6 separate regions of the Homo sapiens genome follow, and regions 1, 2, 4, 5 and 6 are each linked to region 3. Evidence: promoter capture Hi-C in 16 types of primary human blood cells and fetal thymus (Javierre and others, 2016). All regions are on one chromosome and are shown on one strand. Each heading gives the region's core, a stretch centred on a gene start or on the middle of the fragment in contact. The rest is flanking DNA. Distances are from core to core; before and after follow the strand shown. Region 1 has its middle 6.2 kb from the start of LINC00921. Region 2 holds the start of TRR-CCG1-3 (tRNA-Arg (anticodon CCG) 1-3). Region 3 holds the start of ZSCAN32 (zinc finger and SCAN domain containing 32). Region 4 overlaps MEFV (MEFV innate immunity regulator, pyrin). Region 5 has its middle 19 kb from the start of TRP-AGG1-1. Region 6 overlaps ZNF200 (zinc finger protein 200).

Region 1 (2,924 bases), core at 89-2,588, 130 kb before region 3:
TTGGCATCTGGTAGCTTAGCAGTCATCAAGCCAACCCCGTCATGTTACAGAGGAGGACACAGGCTTCCAGGGGAACTGACTGACTTGAGTTCTACACATCAGTGCAGAGCTGGGACTAGAATTCTGTCCACCTAACTGTATTTGGAAGAAAGTTAAGTGCTATTGACTACACCTAATATCTGAAAGATAAAGGGAGAGGCAGAAGCAAGAATGAATAATGTGGCTGGGCGCGGTGGCTCACGCCTTTAATCCCAGCACTTTGAGAGGCCGAGGCAGGTGGATCACGAGATCAGGAGTTCAAGACCAGCCTGACCAACATGGTGAAACTCCATTTCTACTAAAAATACAAAAATTAGCCGGGCATGGTAGCGTGCGCCTGTAACCCCAGCTACTAAGTAGGCTGAGGCGGGAGGATCGATTGAAGCCGGGAGGTGGAGGTTGCAGTGAGCCGAGATCGCACCATTGCACTCCAGCCTGGGCAACAGAGCGAGACTCTGTCAAAAAGAAAAAAAAAAGAATGAATAATTTTTAAAGCAGGCTGTGAAGAACTAAAAACATGAGGACACGGAAATTCAGAAACACCCATTTCAATATGATTCCTTTCGGATAACTTGAAGCCCAAACAGGATGGAAAATCACAGGCCAAAGTCACCTGAAGGAAGGCTGTCACCCATGACGGACAACCGGGATGTTGCTCTCCATTCATCCCAACGGCAGCAAAGTCTGTCCTGGAACATGGAATGGTTTCTTTATACAGACAACTAAGACTGGCTCCAAGAGAAGAGTTGCTACCACTAACCCCTACATGCTGCCTTGAAAGAGTTGGTGGTAGGTGTTGGAAAATTAATCTGAGTAATTAGGAAACAAAATTTGAAACAAAGAATCCCATGCACAATAGTAGCAAAACCCATAACCAGACATGATAAGAAATTTGCAAGACCTATAAGAAGAAAAGTATATAGGATTACAGAATTTTAAAAGTCCCAGATCATTGAAGAAATACACCACAGTCGTGGATGGAAGAGTTAATATTACAAATATATCATGCATTCCTAAATTAATCAACAAATTATAAGCAAACCCAATTGAAATTGTAACGAGATTTTTTTTTTACATTTTTAAAAAAATGTGATCTTGCTATGTTGCCTGAGCTGGTCTCAAACTTCTAAGCTCATGCGATCTTCCTGCCTTGGCCTCTCAAAATGCTGGCATTACAAGTGTGAGCCACCATGCCCAGCCATAACAAGACTTTCTTTTTTTTTTCAGACTGGGTCTCACTGTTGCCCAGGCTGGAGTGCAGTGGCGTGATCTCAGGTCACTGCAACCTCTGCCTCCCAGGTTCAAGTGATTCTCCTGCCTCAGCCTCCCGAGTAGCTGGGATTACAGGTGCGCCCCACCATGCCCAGCTAATTTTTGTATTTTTAGTAGAGATGAGGTTTCGCCATGTTGGCCAGGCTGTTCTGCCCACCTCACCCTCCCAAAGTGCTGGGATTACAGGCATCAGCCACCGCACCAGGCTGCAAGATGTTTAAGAATGGGCTTTGACAAGTTGATTTTTAAAATTCATAGCCAAAAAAATTGTGAAAAAAATACAGTGGTGTGAGATGTATTGTAACAGATATAACAACAAGCTGTGAAAATACAGTAAATTAGAACAGTAATATGTTTTTACAAGAATGGATATAAGGTAAATGGAAACAAGATTCCGTAAGACGTGTGTATATGCAAAAGATGGTATTTAAAACCCAAGGGGAAAAGGTGGCCCAACTTATAAATAGTTTTGGGACTGTTGACAGTTGAGCTGGAAAACATAGACTTCTGCCTGACATATATAAAAAATAAACTCCATATATATATATATATATATATATATATATATATATATTTTTTTTTTTTTTTGAGACGGAATGTCGCTCTTGTTTCCCAGGCTGGAGTGCAATGGTGTGATCTGGGCTCATTGCAACCTCTGCCTCCCAGGTTCAAGTGATTCTCCTGCCTCAGCCTCCCAAGTAGCTGGGATTACAGGCATGTGCCACCACACCCGGCTAATTTTTTGTATTTTTAGTGGAGATGGGTTTTCACCATGTTGCCCAGACTGGTCTCGAACTCCTGACCTCGAGTGATCCACCCGCCTCGGCCTCCCAAAATGCTGGGATTACAACCATGAGCCACCGCACCTGGCCCAGATGATTTAAAGAAACACGAAGTGTAATATCTGTAAATTTGTTTAAATTTCGCAGTGAGGAAGATCTTTCTTTTTTTTTATTTTTTATTTTTTTATTGATCATTCTTGGGTGTTTCTCGCAGAGGGGGACTTGGCAGGGCCATAGGACAACAGTGGAGGGAAGGTCAGCAGACAAACAAGTGAACAAAGGTCTCTGGTTTTCCTAGGCAGAGGACCCTGCGGCCTTCTGCAGTGTTTGTGTCCTTGGGTACTTGAGATTAGGGAGTGGTGATGACTCTTAACGAGCATGCTGCCTTCAAGCATCTGTTTAACAAAGCACATCTTGCACTGCCCTTAATCCATTTAACCCTGAGTGGACACAGCACATGTTTCAGAGAGCACAGGGTTGGGGGTAAGGTCACAGATCAACAGTATCCCAAGGCAGAAGAATTTTTCTTAGTACAGAACAAAATGAAAAGTCTCCCATGTCTACTTTTTTCTACACAGACACAGCAACCATCTGATTTCTCAATCTTTTCCCCACCTTTCCCCCTTTTCTATTCCACAAAACCGCCATTGTCATCATGGCCCCTTCTCAATGAGCTGTTGGGTACCCCTCCCAGACGGGGTGGTGGCTGGGCAAAGGGGCTCCTCACTTCCCAGAAGGGGCGGCCGGGCAAAGGCGGCCCCCCACCACCCGGACGGGGCGGTTGGGCGGGCGGAGGCACCCCCCACCTCCCTCCCGGACGGGGCGGCTGGC
Region 2 (2,718 bases), core at 214-2,713, 250 kb before region 3:
CAGGAGACACGGCCTCCGCTTTCCAGGCGGCCAGAATAAAGTCTGGGGCCAAAAGCCTCTGAAACACACCTTTGCAGGTTCACCGTGATGGAGCAAGCACAGGGGCTGGGCAAGCAGCTTGCAGCCCCTGACCCAAAGCGGCGGGAGGCACATGGGGGAAAGCGCTCCCAAACGGCGTCTCGGAGGGGCCTGCTGCGGGGAGGGTGGGGTAGGGCGGGCTCGCCAGGGCTCGAACTCACAGTCCCGGGCCCGCGGCGGCGGTTTCCACCCAGCAGCCTCAGCGGCCCGGCGCGGTGGCCCAGCTCGGAGTCCCGCCCACCGGGAGCCTCGGAAGGACCGGCCTCCCCTCACTCTAAGCATGCGCGTTAAAGCGACAGCATAGGCTATAGAAAGCTTTATGAGAATAGCTGGGAGCCATACAGCCGCAGGGCCGCGTGGCCTAATGGATAAGGCGTCTGATTCCGGATCAGAAGATTGAGGGTTCGAGTCCCTTCGTGGTCGTTGCCATGTTAACGTTTTCTTCCAGCTCCACTTAAAATTTCTTCACCTGGGACTGCACCCTGGGCGACTACGACACTCGAACTGAGTGCGCCGGTCGCTCTCCCCTCACCCCCGTAGGAACACTGGGACCTCGCCCTGCGCCTCCAGTCGCGAAGCTAAGGACCCAGGGCCAGAATAGCAGCGAGGGCGACTTAGAGAACGCCGGCAGGGCCCTGGCGGACTGCGGAGCTTGAAGCCAGAGAACGCAGGTCCTGGGATCTGGTAGGGGATTGACTTCACAAATTAACGTTCAGGTGATGGAAACCGTGACAGACGCGGGGCTGGGATTGCTTGCTGTGAGGAGTTGCCCCAAGGGATCAAAGGACACCTGTAGTTTTTTGTTTTTGTTTTTGTTTTTTTTTTGAGACGGAGTTTCGCTCTTGTTGCCTAGGCTGGAGTGCAATGTCTTGATCTCCGCTCACTGCAACCTCCGCCTCCCGGGTTCAAACGATTCTCCTGCCTCAGCCTTCCGAGTAGCTGGGATTACAGGCATGCGCCACCAGGCCCGGCTAATTTTTGTATTTTTAGTAGGGTGGGGGGGTGGGCGGGGGTGGGTTCTCCATGTTGGCCAGGCTGGTCTCGAACTCCCGACCTCAGGTGATCGTCCAGCCTCGGTCTCCCAAAGTGCTGGGCTTACAGGCGTGAGCCACCGCGCCCGGCGACATGTGTAGTTTAATTGATTATTGTGATGAAAAACTTTGTATCAACTGATCATGGGGTAACAAAGTAAAAAAGAAAACGATTATAGTGGTGATGAGCCGGGCGCGGTGGCTCACGCCTCTAATCCCAGCACTTTGGGAGGTCGAGGCGGGCGAATCATGAGGTCGGGAGTTCCAGACCAGCCTGACTCACATGGTAAAACCCCGTTTCTACTAAAAATACAAAAATTAGCGGGACGTGGTGGCGCGCGCCTGTACTCCCAGCTACTCAGGAGGCTGAGGCAGGAGAATCGCTTGAACCCGGGAGGCCGGAGGCTGCAGTGAGCCAAGATCGCGCCACTGCACTCCAGCCTGGGCGACAGAGCGAGACTCCGTCTCAAAATAGAAAATAAATAAAATAAAATAAAATAAAATAAAATAAAATAAAATAAAATAAAATAAAATAAAATTCAAAGAGTATCTCCAGGATTGAGTTAATATTTCGCCGAGGGGAAAAAAAATGTCTACCAGCGGAACCCGAGTTTAGTCCGGGTGCCGAGCAGCGCCTCTTGGGGTATCCTTCCACGGGGTGGGGTATCCTTCCACGGGGTGAAGGCTGCGGAGAGTCGCAGCTGCAGGCATGGCCTCCGGTCGGCGGACGCTGGTGACCTGGCGTCGTGCAGGGTGTCACTTTCTCCTTTAATTTTTTTTGATGTTTCAGTGGTTTACGAAGGTATTTGTTTTTGGTAGAGACGGGGCGCTCACTATTTTGCCCATGATGGTCTCGAACTCCTGGACTGAAGCGTTTACTAGGTATTAAAGGAAAAGAACGTCATTAAAATACAGATTTTTTAAAAAAGGAAAATAACACACGTGTTGGGGCAGGAAAGTAAACACCCAACGTGGCGATCCTGAGATTAACACCTAGCCAGCTGGGGATGTAGAGGGCGGATTTTGGAGGGTCATTATTAAGAGGCTTCCGACCACTGGGCGGCACCCTTGGTCTAACGGACAATGCGGGGGAGGAGGACGAAGACCGACACTTCCAGAAGCGGCGGGCTCGGGATGAGGAGCCAGTTGCTGAGCTGGCATCGCGTGCCCCTTCCCATACACTCTACCCATCGCAAGTGCATCATTCGCTACTAATTACCCCTAGACTTGGGTTGTCTCCTGAGTGGAGACGACGGCTTGTGAAGGAGTTGATCCAGGCACCTCTCGCACCCTAAGCGAAGATCATACCCCTAGACCAAAGAGCGGAGCCAAAAATCTGACGTTCGGTGTCTTTCAGGTCCCTCTGCACGTGCGCCGTCTCTTTGGGGTCCCGAGGATGCTCAGGAGCGGACGAGATCTGAACCGAAGCTTGGATTGCAGTGGAGGGGCGGGAGAAAGGCCAGGGTAGGACGGGCAGGCTGTGCAGGAACCACCGCGGAGTGATGGAGAAACTGGTCTAAGACAAGCGACAGCGTTTTGTTATCCGCCCCGGTGGCCTAATGGATAAGGCATTGGCCTCCTAAGCCAGGGATTGTGGGTTCGAGTCCCA
Region 3 (2,700 bases), core at 125-2,624:
GAGATGGAGTCTCACTCTGTTGCCCAGGCTGGTCTCAAACTCCTGAACTCAAGCAATCCTCCCACCTCAACCTCCCAAAGTGTTAGGATTACAAGTATAAGCCACCATGCCCGACCTTAAAAATAATTTTAAATAGAAGCTAACTTTTGTATTTTTTGTAGAGGTGGAGTTTCACTATGTTGCCCAGGCTGGTCTCAAACTCCTGTGCTCAAGTGATCCTCCCACCTTGGCCTCCCAAAGTGCTGGGATTACAGGTGTGAGCCACTGCACCCGCGAAGGCAGTCTTTTTTAATGAGTTTGTGTTGGTTTTTATCTACTTAAAACACAGATTAAAGCAGATCGTAATTTACATTTTCTCCAGGGGCTGATACACCCTCACCATGTGGTATTAAAATGGATCCAGCATGCACAACAAGATGAATATACTCAGGACTACTGAGCTGTACACTTAAAAATGGTTATGATGGTAAATGTTTTTTAAAAATTAAAGAAATTTTTTTATATTTTAAAAATGGATTTGGGTTCCCTTTTCTCAAGGAACTTGAACTGCCTTCACTTAAATTCTCTTTACATTTCAGTGCTTCTAGAGATAGAGAAATCAAGGGCATTATTATTGTTAGCACTGCTTTCTAGCCAAAAAGAAACTGAGAGCGATGAAGTATCTTGCCTAAAGCATCACACAGCACAGCTCCTAGGCAGCAAGGCCAGGACTAGAACCAGCACCCCTTGCCTTCATTATGTTCATCCTGTGCCTTACCTGGCTGAAGAAGAATTTAATAAAAGCTCTTCTAACTTCATGCAGAAGGCGGAACCTGCACCCTTCTTGACCCCTTTTGACCCCTTACCTCCCACTCATCGTTAAATTTTAAAATGCTGTTCTCTGAAAATTTTACTTCACTCTAGCGATGGCCCAAACACTCGGAAAAAAATGTAGCATGAGGATGGGGAGCCAGGTTGATAGGTTTTTCACTTAGTTAACTATTTATTGAGTACTCAGAACGCACTCGGTGCCAGGGCTAGGCACTGTGGATGAGTAGGGAGTGGGCGAGACAGGGACGAGATGAGCAGGGTCAAGGCCAGGGGGTCCCGGGGCGCCGGCGCTCAGGCTCGGGGTGATCCGCACGGTGGGAGCGGGGCACGGTGATCGCGGCGCGTCTGGGGACGCCCGGCCTGAGGGAGGCTGCCTGTCCCAAGGAGACGCCCATCGGGGCCGGACCCGAACGCCTCGGAGAAGACTCCCAGCGGGGAGGGGCTCCTCGGCCGTCGCAGGGCCCAGCGGCTAATCCCGCCGGCCGCAAGGAAGCGGAGAACTCACCGGACACCAGCACTCGCGACTCCACAAACTCCCTCAGCCTCCGGGCCGGAAGTCAGCGGCGCGATTCGCTCCGCCCATTACGCACGCCCCTGCGCAGGCCCGCAAGCCGAATTGCCGGACTGCAGCTCCCGGGATGCACTGCGACGGTATTGACAGGCGCAGCAACCAATAGACGGTAGAGAATGCCCTTGGCAGGAGGCGGGCCCTGTCAGTAGTTGTCCTCAGCAGCTAGTGGGCGTCTCCGCAGCGAGTGGCATCGGCCCCGCCCCCAGCCCGTGCTCGCCGGTGTCGGGTCCTAAGTCCCTCGGTCTTGGGTTCCCGGAGAGGTGAGTCGGCTGCAGGTGGGTGCGGGGCGCCGGGCTGTTCGGGGTACCGGTGTCGCAGTCGCCAGTCCGAGCTCACACCGGGCGTGGAGTTCAGCTGCGCATCGGGTTGCGGCAGCTTCGCCAGGCCTGGGGCTGGCTGGGCCGCGGGGCCGCCCTGGAGGCCGGAGCCACTGGGCCTGCGGCGCCTCGGCAGCGAGCAGCCGCTTTGCTCGCGTGCAGGAGGCTGTTCGCTACCTCACACCCCCGGCTGGCGCTGTGGCCTCGCTTAGCTCTACCGTTTAGCACCCGGCGACATGCACCCGGTCGGTTTCCGCCAGGATGCGGGAGAGTTGGGGCAAGCTACCTGCGACAGCTTGAACTTTTCCTAGGGATTCCGCTCCACCCGCCGGTTAGAGCGTATTGCTCATTAAATCCGAGACCTGTGTGCTTGCTACTGAAATAAAAGAAGTATTTTTTCCCCAGAGTCCTTTTAGGACGTTATGACTTTTCTCCTTTGCAAGACTGCAAAAAACTGACAAGAAGACAAAACTCTTCCCACTCCCAGGGACCGCGTTGTCTTGAGTTTGGCTAGTAAAGGCTAGCAAGTGAGGCTTTGTCTCTGCATCCCGTTCCCCCTAACATCCTCAGAGAACCTTCGTTTCTAGAATCTTTCTAGTATTCAGAGACTTCTCCAGGGTCATGATCCCAAAGGCTTAACCCGTTTACAAGGAGAGAGTTGTCTCCTGACGCCCAAAATGGCAGCTAAAATGGAGATAACTTTAAGCTCCAACACTGAAGCTTCCTCCAAGCAAGAGAGACACATAATAGCCAAACTAGAAGAGAAACGGGGCCCTCCTCTGCAAAAAAACTGCCCAGATCCTGAGCTCTGCCGCCAGAGCTTCAGACGCTTTTGTTATCAAGAGGTGTCTGGACCCCAAGAGGCTCTCTCCCAGCTCCGACAGCTCTGCCGTCAGTGGTTGCAACCCGAGCTGCACACCAAGGAGCAGATTTTGGAGCTTCTGGTGATGGAGCAGTTCCTGACCATCCTGCCCCCGGAGATCCAGGCTCGGGTCAGGCATC
Region 4 (2,832 bases), core at 74-2,573, 150 kb before region 3:
TCAGCAGGATGGGCTGAATTCACCCTTCCCAGTCTGCAGCTCCATACCCGGCCAGCCTCCCTGCTGACCAGATGCCCTTCTCCCTATCAAATCCAGAGAGGCTTTGGGAAGCTGCAGAAAAAAGGAGGAGTCTGGAATCACAGACCCCGGGGTTGGGAACATCTCCCTCCCAGGTCCCTTCTGGGACTGTCTCCCCCATATGCTTTCTGCAAGACACCCCAGGGTACACCACAGGACCTCGCTGTACCTGTGCAAGATGTCTCCAATGTCCTAGGAGAAAAAAGAAGGAAACTGTCGGTTACCAGGCTCCTAGTGGCTGGGCTGACTCCTGGCCTCTACTTCTGGGCTCCTGGACTTTTAGCTCCCCGCTGCACTTACCAGGGCTCCCTGCCCTAGGGTGTCAGTGGAAGTGGAGCACCTTTCTTCAAGTCTAATTCTAACCACGGGAATTCAGGCATCCCAGGTGGCGAGGCCTGCAATGGAACGGCCCTCAAGCCCTGCTGATCCCTTCTGGGAAATGGCAGAGATCCCCTGGATACCAGGCCACCCTGGGCTCCTGAGAGACCTCATCAAAGGGGTCTGGGCACAAGAGGCACTGTGGGTCACCAAGACCAAGTCCTATCCTAGGCCTTAGGGGCTTCACCCACTTGTTCCAGCACGGCTGATGGCAGAGCTGGGAGCCTGAGGCATCCTGATAGGCACAGGGGACCCAAGAAAGCCGGGCCCAGGCACACCCACCTGCAGAAGTTCCCATTCTGACTGGCACTCCTTGGCCTCCAGTTCCCCAATCAGCGCATCGAGCAGGGCGATGTCCTGGGATACGCGGGTGTCATATGCCTTCCTGATCTGCCCAACCATCTGGCCCACGTCCTCCAGTGAGGCCACAAAGAAATGCTCTTGCTGCTCCAGGAAGTAGTACACCTGCTCCAGCTTCCTCTGCACCCGCTGCTTCAGCGCTTCAGTTTGTTTCTGGGGAGCAGAGGACAGGGAGGTATGGGGGTCTGTGCTGTGGGTGGACGTGGATGTCCAGGAACCCCCAGAAGCCCACCTCCTGGAGGTGGATAAGAGGTGGGCTTATGCTGCCTCTTCAAGGCCTAGATTCCAGAGCAGGAGGCGATATTGTCTGGAACCTTCCAGAAAAGACTGAGCATGGCTGGGGCTAGCTCTGGGAAAATGTCCTTAAACCTGGTGTTAAGGTTTAACTGTGTCCCTTCCAAAATTTACACGTTGAAGCCCTAACCCCCAGTACTCAGCATGTGATCTTATTTGGAGATAAGAGTTCTTGCAGATGTAATTAGTTAAGATGTGGTCCTACTGGGATTGGGTGGGTCCCTAATCCAATATAAATGTTGTCTTATAAAATGGGGAAATTTGGGCTGGGTGCATTGGCTCATGTCTGTAATCCCAGCACTTTGGGAGGCTGAGTTGGGCAGATCACTTGAGATCAGGAGTTCGAGACCAGCCTGGCCAACATGGGGAAACTCTGTCTTTACTAAAAATACAAAAATTAGCCAGGAGTGGTGGCATGTGCCTACAGTCCCAGCAACTCGGGAGGCTGAGGCAGGAGAATTGCTTCAACTGGGGAGGCGAAGGTTTGCAGTGAGCCGAGATTGCACCACTGCACCCCAGCCTGGACGACGGAGTGAGATTCCATCTCAAAAAAAAAAAAAAAAAAAAACCCTAAAAAACAAAAAAACCAGCCCAGGCACGATGGCTCACACCTGTAATCCCAGCACTTTGGGAGGCCGAGGCAGGTGGATCACCTGAGGTCAGGAGTTTGAGACCAGCCTGGCCAACACGGTGAAATCCCGTCTCTACTAAAAATACAAAAATTAGCCAGGCGCGGTGGCAGGCGCCTGTAATTCCAGCCACTAAGGAGGCTGAGGCAGGAGAATTGCTTGAACCTCGGAGGTGGAGGTTGGAGCAAGCCAAGATCGTGCCACTGTACTCCAGCCTGGGTGACAGAGCGAGACTCCATCTTGGAAACAAAACAAAAAAACAGAGAGTAAATTATGAAGTTAAAAGTGTTCTTGGCCGGGCGCAGTGGCTCACATCTGTAATCCCAGTACTTTGGGAGGCCAAGGCGGGCGGATCACGAGTTCAGGAGTTCGAGAACAGCCTGACCAACATGGTGAAACCCCATCTCTACTAAAACTACAAAAATTAGCCAGGCATGGTGGCACTCACCTATAATCCCAGCTACTCAGGAGGCTGAGGCAGGAGAATCGCTTGAACCCGGGAGGCAGAGGTTGCAGTGAGCCAAGATCACACCACTGCACTACAACCTGGGTGACAGAGCGAGACTCCGTCACAAAAAAAGAAAGTGGCGTTCTCCTCCCTTTTCCTCAATCCCATCTTTCTGCAGTAGTCACCGGCATAGGTTGCTCTCTACCATCTTCTGGTGAGTATGAGAAAGCATGACAGGATCCTCAGAGGTGACCCCTGCCTGCTGGGGGTGGTCTCCCTCTACAGGGATGAGCTTACCCTTGGCTGCTGGTTACCCTCTGTCCCCTGAGAGGAGGTGGCCATCCCTGCTGCCCTGTGAACCACAGCAGAATCTCGGGGACCCCTGCTCACTCTTCCCACCTTCCTCCCAGGGACGGATGGGCCATCAGCCACCTCTGACCTTACCAGAAAGCTCACTGCCTTCTCCTCCCCATAGGATCGCTGCTCCTCCCCTGATTTTCTCAGCTTCTTCAGATGCTCCAGCTGCTTCTGAATTTTCTTCTGGAAAAACAGCACTTGTTGAAAAGCTTGAATTTGGCTCCTGCCATCTTTAGCTGGTGCCAACTCTGGAGGGGAACATCTCCTTCTGGTAGCAAGGCTGAGGGT
Region 5 (2,779 bases), core at 139-2,638, 190 kb before region 3:
AGTCAGGTGGAGAGAGGGAGAGACTGGGGAGCTAGAAGCATCCACTGGCACGATCCTGTGAGTTACGGCACACAGTGCAGTCCCTGCCCTTCGATGCCTGGTCAGCTGACAGCCTGTGTGCTGCAACATAGATGCCTGTGGCCCATCCCTTTGGGGGCCACACTGGGACCCACCTAAGGTTCAGATCACAGCCATCTGTGTTCAAACTCATGTTATTCTCCACTAAAATCTGACTCTGGGCCGGGTATGGTGGCTCCCACCTGTAATCACAACACCTTTAAAGTCCAAGGTGGGAGGATCATTTGAGCCCAGGAGTTTGAGACCAGCCTGGGCAATATAGTGAGACTCCATCTCTACAAAAAATTAAAAAATTAACTGGGCATGGTGGCTCATACCTGTGGTCCCAGCTACTTGGGAGGCTGAGGTGGGAGGATCACTTGAGCCCAGGAAGTTGAGGCTGCAGTGAGCTGCGATCGTGCCACTGCACTCCAGCCTCGGGAACAAAGCATGATCCTGTCTCCAAAAAAAAAAAAAAAAATCTGCCTCCGGATGGACACCCACTCCCTGGCCCTGGGGCTTCCAGTCCCACTGTGTCAAACCAGGTTTCCCCAGGAACACCCAGAGCAGATCCAGGCTTATTCCTTTGAGATTCCCTCTGGGTCCTAGGGATCTTTTTATGTGGAAATGACTTCAATATATTTTTTTCTCATGATATAGCTGTAGCTGTAAAATATAATCCAAATAGATCTATATGAAGATTATAATGTTTGAATTCTGACTGCTTCTTATTATTTATTTAGTTGATTTGCAAAGTCTAATAATTAACATTTCAATTATTTTCTTTCTATATGTTAATAGCTTTTACCTTTTTTTCTTTACAGAATGATTGCAGTAAGCTTTTACTTTTTTTTTTTTAACGTCCTTTTTTTTTCTGCGGGGGGGATGAAGTCTCAGTCTGTTGCCCAGGCTGGAGTGCAGCAGCACGATCTCAGCTCACTGTAACCTCTGCCTCCTGGGTTCAAGTGATTTTCCTGCCTCAACCTCTTGAGTGGCTGGGATTACAGACATCCACCACCATGCCTGGCTAATTTTTGTATTTTTAGTAGAGATGGGGTTTCACCATGTTGGCCAGGCTGGTCTTGAACTCCTGACCTCAAGTGATCTGCCTACCTTGGCATCCCAAAGTGCTGGAATTACAGGCATGAGCCACCATGCCGGGTCAGCTTTACTTTTTGATTTGATCTTTGGTTATGGAGGTGATGTGGTTTGGCTGTTTGTCTCCACCAAATCTCATGTTGAAATGTGATTCTCAGTGTTGGAGGTGGCGCCTGGCAGGTGGTGTTTAGGTCATGGGGGTGGGTCCCTCATGAATGGCTTGGTTCCCCCCACACAGTAATAAGTTACCATGAGCTCTGATTGTTAGAGCCTGGGAGCTTCCCCTTCTCCCTTTTATTCCCTCTCTCTTCATGTGACACACCTGTTTCCACTTCACCTTCTGCCATGATTGGAAACTTCCTGAGGCCTCACCAGAAGTAGGTGCCCACACCATGCTTCTTGTACAGCCTGCAGAATCATGACCCAAAAAAACTTTTCTTTATAAATTACCCAGAGTCAGGTATTTCTTTATAGCAGCGAAAACGGACTAACACAGAAGGCCTGGAGGCTGGTGAATGTTATCCATTCATTATAAATTATATTAAATACCTTCTAGAAATAGAATGATCTTTGTCCTCTTCAATTCTTGTTTCTGCTTAAAGCATACTTTGGTTAATACTAATATTACTCATTCTGCTTTCTTGTGTTTGCTCATTCTCTCAGACTTTCTGAAATAGTTGACTTGGATGAAGGGCTCCTTCCCTCTGTATCAAGATCTTCCTTTTCAAAGCTTTCAGTATGTGAGAAAAAATTAGGGCAGGCAAGGTGGCTCACGCCTGTAATCCCAGCACTTTGGGAGGCCTAGGCTGGTGGATCACGACGTCAGGAGATCGAGACCATCCTGGCTAACACGGTGAAACCCCGTCTCTACTAAAAATACAAAAAAATTATCCAGGCATGGTGGTGGGCACCTGCAGTCCCAGTTACTTGGGAGGCTGAGGCAGGAGAATCACTTGAACCTGGGAGGTGGAGGCTGCAGTGAGCCAAGATCACGCTGCTGCACTCCAGCCTGGATGACAGAGTGAGACTCTGTCTAAAAAAAATTAAAAAAAATAAAAAAAAAATAGAGTGTAATCTAACACCTAGAAAGAACAGTCTACAGGCCGGGCATGGTGGCTCACGCCTGTAATCCCAGCCCTTGGGGAGGCTGAAGTAGGCGCCTGTAATCCCAGCCTTTGGGGAGGCCGAGGTAGGCGGATCACCTGAGGTCAGGAGTTCGAGACCAGACTGACCAACATGGTGAAACCGCATCTCTACTAAAAATACAAAAAAAAATCTGGGCGTGGTGGTGGGTTCTTGTAATACCAGCTACTCAGGAACCTGCGGTGGGAGGATCCCTTGAGCCTGGGAAGTGGAGGTTGCAGTGAGTCGAGATTGTGTTACTGCACTACAGCCTGGGCGACAGTAAGACTCTGTCTCAAAAAAAAAAAAAGTGATTCTGTTTTTCAGTTTGTCTTTTGTCTATCTCACACACTTTTGTCTCTGCTCTTCCACGTATATTTTTATCTACTAATTTTCACCTTTGAATGTCCCTCTTTTGAAGATGGGTGAGTGGGGCTTCCAGTTTTGTAAGGGATACTTGCGTTATGTTAGGATCCAGCCTAACATTTTCAGGAGGGTGTGT
Region 6 (2,700 bases), core at 12-2,511, 170 kb before region 3:
TCCTGGGTTCAAGTGATTCTCCTTCCTCAGCCTCCCGAGTAGCTGGGATTATAGGCATGCCCCACCACATCCAGCTAATTTTTGTATTTTTAGTAAAAATGGGGTTTTGCCATGTTGGCCAGGCTGGTCTCAAAACTCCTGACCTCAGGTGATCCACCTGCCTCGGCCTCCCAAAGTGCTGGGATTACAGGCGTGAGCCACCATGCCCCAGCCTTTTGTACGTATTTGAATCTGTCAATCTTTTCTTTCAAGGCTTCTGGGCTTTTGAGTCTTAATTACAAAAACCTTCCTATCCCATGGTTATAAAGGAATCACTCATATTTTCTAAATGTGCTTTTTATATTTGTTTTAAACATTTAAAATCTTTGATCCATGTGGACTTTTTCTTGGTATGTAAAGTAAGGTACTAATTTATCAAGTGGCTGTCAGTCGTCCTAACACCTTTTATCAAAAAGTCCCCCTTTATGGTTAGGCTTTGTGTCCTCGCCCAAATCTCATCTTAAATTGTAATCCCACATGTCAAGGAGACATCAGGTGAAGGTAACTGAGTCATGGGCGGGGGGGCCTTCCCCCATGCTATTCTCATGATAGTGAGTTCTCATGAGATCTGATGGTTTTATAAGGGGCTCTTCCCCCTTTACTCGTACTTCTCCCTCCTGCTGCCTTGTGAAGATGATGCCTTGCTTCCTCTTGCCTTTGCCATGATTTTAAGTTTCTGGAGGCCTCCCCAGCCATGCTGAACTGTGAGTCAATTAAACCTGTTTCCTTTATAAATTACCAAGTCTCGGACAATTCTTTATACCAGTGTGAAAATGGACGAATACACCAACTTTATCACACACTAAACTCCCATGTGTATTTGAGGCTATTTCGGGACTTTCTGAGATCACAGTCTTGTTCCAAGGGAAAAATGCTATTGGTATTGTTGAAAAAAAACACATCAAATTAATAAATCAACAAGAGGAGAAATGACCTTTTTATGATATTGTCTCCCTAGCCAAAAACATAGTATTTTTTTTTTTTGCTTTCGTTGAAATCTACTCTTGTCCTTTAGCCTTGTTTTAAAGTTTCCTCATAAATTTGCACATTTCTTGAGTTTATTCCTAAGTATTTAAACTTTCATGTTTCTATTCTAATGGGGCCTTCCACTGTATCTTCTAAATGACCCCATTTATATATGTGAAAGCCAATGATTTCTGTTTATTCACTTTATTTCCCACTACCTTAGTGAATGGTCTCATTTTTTCCCATGAGAGTACTTAAGACAAATAAATGTTCTTATTTTTAAGTTTTCTGATTACTCTGTTCTACCTATAAGGAAGTATCTGTTAACTATTTTGTTAAATGTTCTTATAAAGGAGAGGCTTCAATTTTGTCAAGTATCTTTTCAGTAACTATACAAGTAAACAAATGATTTTTCTCCTTTATATATAAGAAATATTAATAGATTTGTATTATTTCTGTTTTTTTAATTATTTTTTTTGAGATGGAGTCTTGCTCTGTCCCCTAGGCTGGAGTACAATGATGTGATCTCAGCTCACTGCAACCTCTGCCTCCCGGGTTCAAGTGATTCTCCTACCTCAGCCTCCAGAGTAACTGGGATTACAAGCACGCACCACCACACCCAGCTAACTTTTGTATATTTTTTTTTTAGTAGAGATGGGGTTTTGCTATGTTGGACAGGCTGGTCTCAAACTCCTGACCTCAGGTATCACCCGCCTTTGCCTCCCAAAGTGCTGGGATTACAGCCGTGAACCACTGTGCCCAGCATGGGGACTGGATTTCAACACGAGATTTGGAGGGGACAAATATCCAAACTATATCAGCAACCTTGCGTCAAAGGGGTAAAAACAAATTAAAATTGCATATTTTTTCTAGAAAACATTATACAGACCTTCATATTCATAGGTTCTGCATCTGAGGATTCAACCAACCAAGGATTGAAAATATTTGAGAGAAAAAAAAAGGATGGTTTTGTCTGTACATATTCAGTTTTTTTGTCATTCCCTAAACAATTTAGTATAACAACTATTTATGTAGCATTTACTTTGTATTAGGTATTATAATTGATCTAGAAATAAAATATATGGTAGGATATGTGTGGAGTATATGTAAATGCTACACCATTTTATATAATGAATTTGAGCATCCATGGATTTTGGTATCTGAGTGGGGGTCCTGGAACCAATCCCCCATGAATACCAAGGACAAGTGTATATCAGAATTTATGGTATAACCTAAAGTGATGCTCATAAGAGAGCTCATGGCTGTAAAAACATGTATTAATTTAGAAAAATGAGAATAATAAAGCCTCTGATTCAAAGTTAGAAAAACAATAGGATAAATTTAAAAGAATGAAGGTATTAATAAATACCAATTAGAAAGTAATGAGTTAAAAATAGAAAAAAACTAGTAAGATTTAAGCAAAAATAAACCAATTTCCATAGAGAAAATTGAAATTATCAAAAAAAGACTAGCCACCTACCCAAGAAAAGCACCAGCCTCAGACAGTTCCACAGAAAATTCTTCTAAACTTTTAAAAATTAAATAATTCAAATGCTAGGAAAATTTCCAGAGTATAGAAAAAGAAGGTTGGGAGGCCAAGGCGGGCAGATCACAAGGTCAGGAGATTGAGACCATCCTGGCTAACATGGTGAAACCCTGTCTCTACTAAAAATACAAAAAATCAGCCGGACAAGG

What was found. Contacts are between HindIII fragments. The CHiCAGO score rates a contact against its expected background, and 5 or more counts as called.
Region 1: a fragment that was not itself captured here is called in contact with the fragment with the promoter of ZSCAN32 in region 3 in 15 of 17 cell types (naive CD4 T cells, monocytes, M2 macrophages and 12 more); the score reaches 10.3 in naive CD4 T cells.
Region 2: a contact is called between a fragment that was not itself captured here and the fragment with the promoter of ZSCAN32 in region 3, in 10 of 17 cell types (naive CD8 T cells, megakaryocytes, naive CD4 T cells and 7 more). The highest score is 9.2, in naive CD8 T cells.
Region 4: a fragment that was not itself captured here is called in contact with the fragment with the promoter of ZSCAN32 in region 3 in 1 of 17 cell types (monocytes); the score reaches 6.4 in monocytes.
Region 5: a contact is called between a fragment that was not itself captured here and the fragment with the promoter of ZSCAN32 in region 3, in 1 of 17 cell types (monocytes). The highest score is 5.2, in monocytes.
Region 6: a fragment that was not itself captured here is called in contact with the fragment with the promoter of ZSCAN32 in region 3 in 12 of 17 cell types (monocytes, fetal thymus, erythroblasts and 9 more); the score reaches 9.8 in monocytes.

The regions. Positions count from the first base shown.
Region 1 is chr16:3,268,542-3,271,465 of GRCh38, forward strand. No RefSeq gene overlaps it. Among named protein-coding and RNA genes, the nearest start is that of LINC00921, 6.2 kb to the left of the region's middle. The HindIII fragment of the contact is 5,663 bases long and covers 1-2,924 here.
Region 2 is chr16:3,150,246-3,152,963 of GRCh38, forward strand. TRR-CCG1-3 (tRNA-Arg (anticodon CCG) 1-3) reads left to right here and starts at 429; the gene lies at 429-501. It overlaps TRR-CCT3-1 (tRNA-Arg (anticodon CCT) 3-1), which reads left to right and starts at 2,655; the gene lies at 2,655-2,718. It also overlaps the pseudogene TRP-AGG6-1. RefSeq lists silencers at 152-501, 2,683-2,718. The HindIII fragment of the contact is 2,144 bases long and covers 392-2,535 here.
Region 3 is chr16:3,399,630-3,402,329 of GRCh38, forward strand. ZSCAN32 (zinc finger and SCAN domain containing 32) reads right to left here and starts at 1,375. Exons shown (of 7, transcript NM_001284527.2): 1 at 1,316-1,375. It overlaps ZNF174 (zinc finger protein 174), which reads left to right and starts at 1,586. Exons shown (of 3, transcript NM_003450.3): 1 at 1,586-2,700. The coding sequence starts at 2,376. It overlaps LOC105371059 (a long non-coding RNA gene), which reads left to right. Exons shown (of 4, transcript XR_007064949.1): 4 at 2-40. RefSeq lists silencers at 1,013-1,162, 1,713-1,932 and an enhancer at 1,136-1,635. The HindIII fragment of the contact is 4,650 bases long and covers 1-2,416 here.
Region 4 is chr16:3,246,278-3,249,109 of GRCh38, forward strand. MEFV (MEFV innate immunity regulator, pyrin) reads right to left here. Exons shown (of 10, transcript NM_000243.3): 4 at 2,632-2,727; 5 at 739-969; 6 at 248-270. Among named protein-coding and RNA genes, the nearest start is that of MEFV, 8.9 kb to the right of the region's middle. The HindIII fragment of the contact is 2,855 bases long and covers 1-2,751 here.
Region 5 is chr16:3,209,103-3,211,881 of GRCh38, forward strand. No RefSeq gene overlaps it. Among named protein-coding and RNA genes, the nearest start is that of TRP-AGG1-1, 19 kb to the left of the region's middle. RefSeq lists a silencer at 2,666-2,779. The HindIII fragment of the contact is 989 bases long and covers 895-1,883 here.
Region 6 is chr16:3,227,030-3,229,729 of GRCh38, forward strand. All of the region lies in intron 4 of ZNF200 (zinc finger protein 200), which reads right to left. Among named protein-coding and RNA genes, the nearest start is that of ZNF200, 6.8 kb to the right of the region's middle. The HindIII fragment of the contact is 5,587 bases long and covers 1-2,700 here.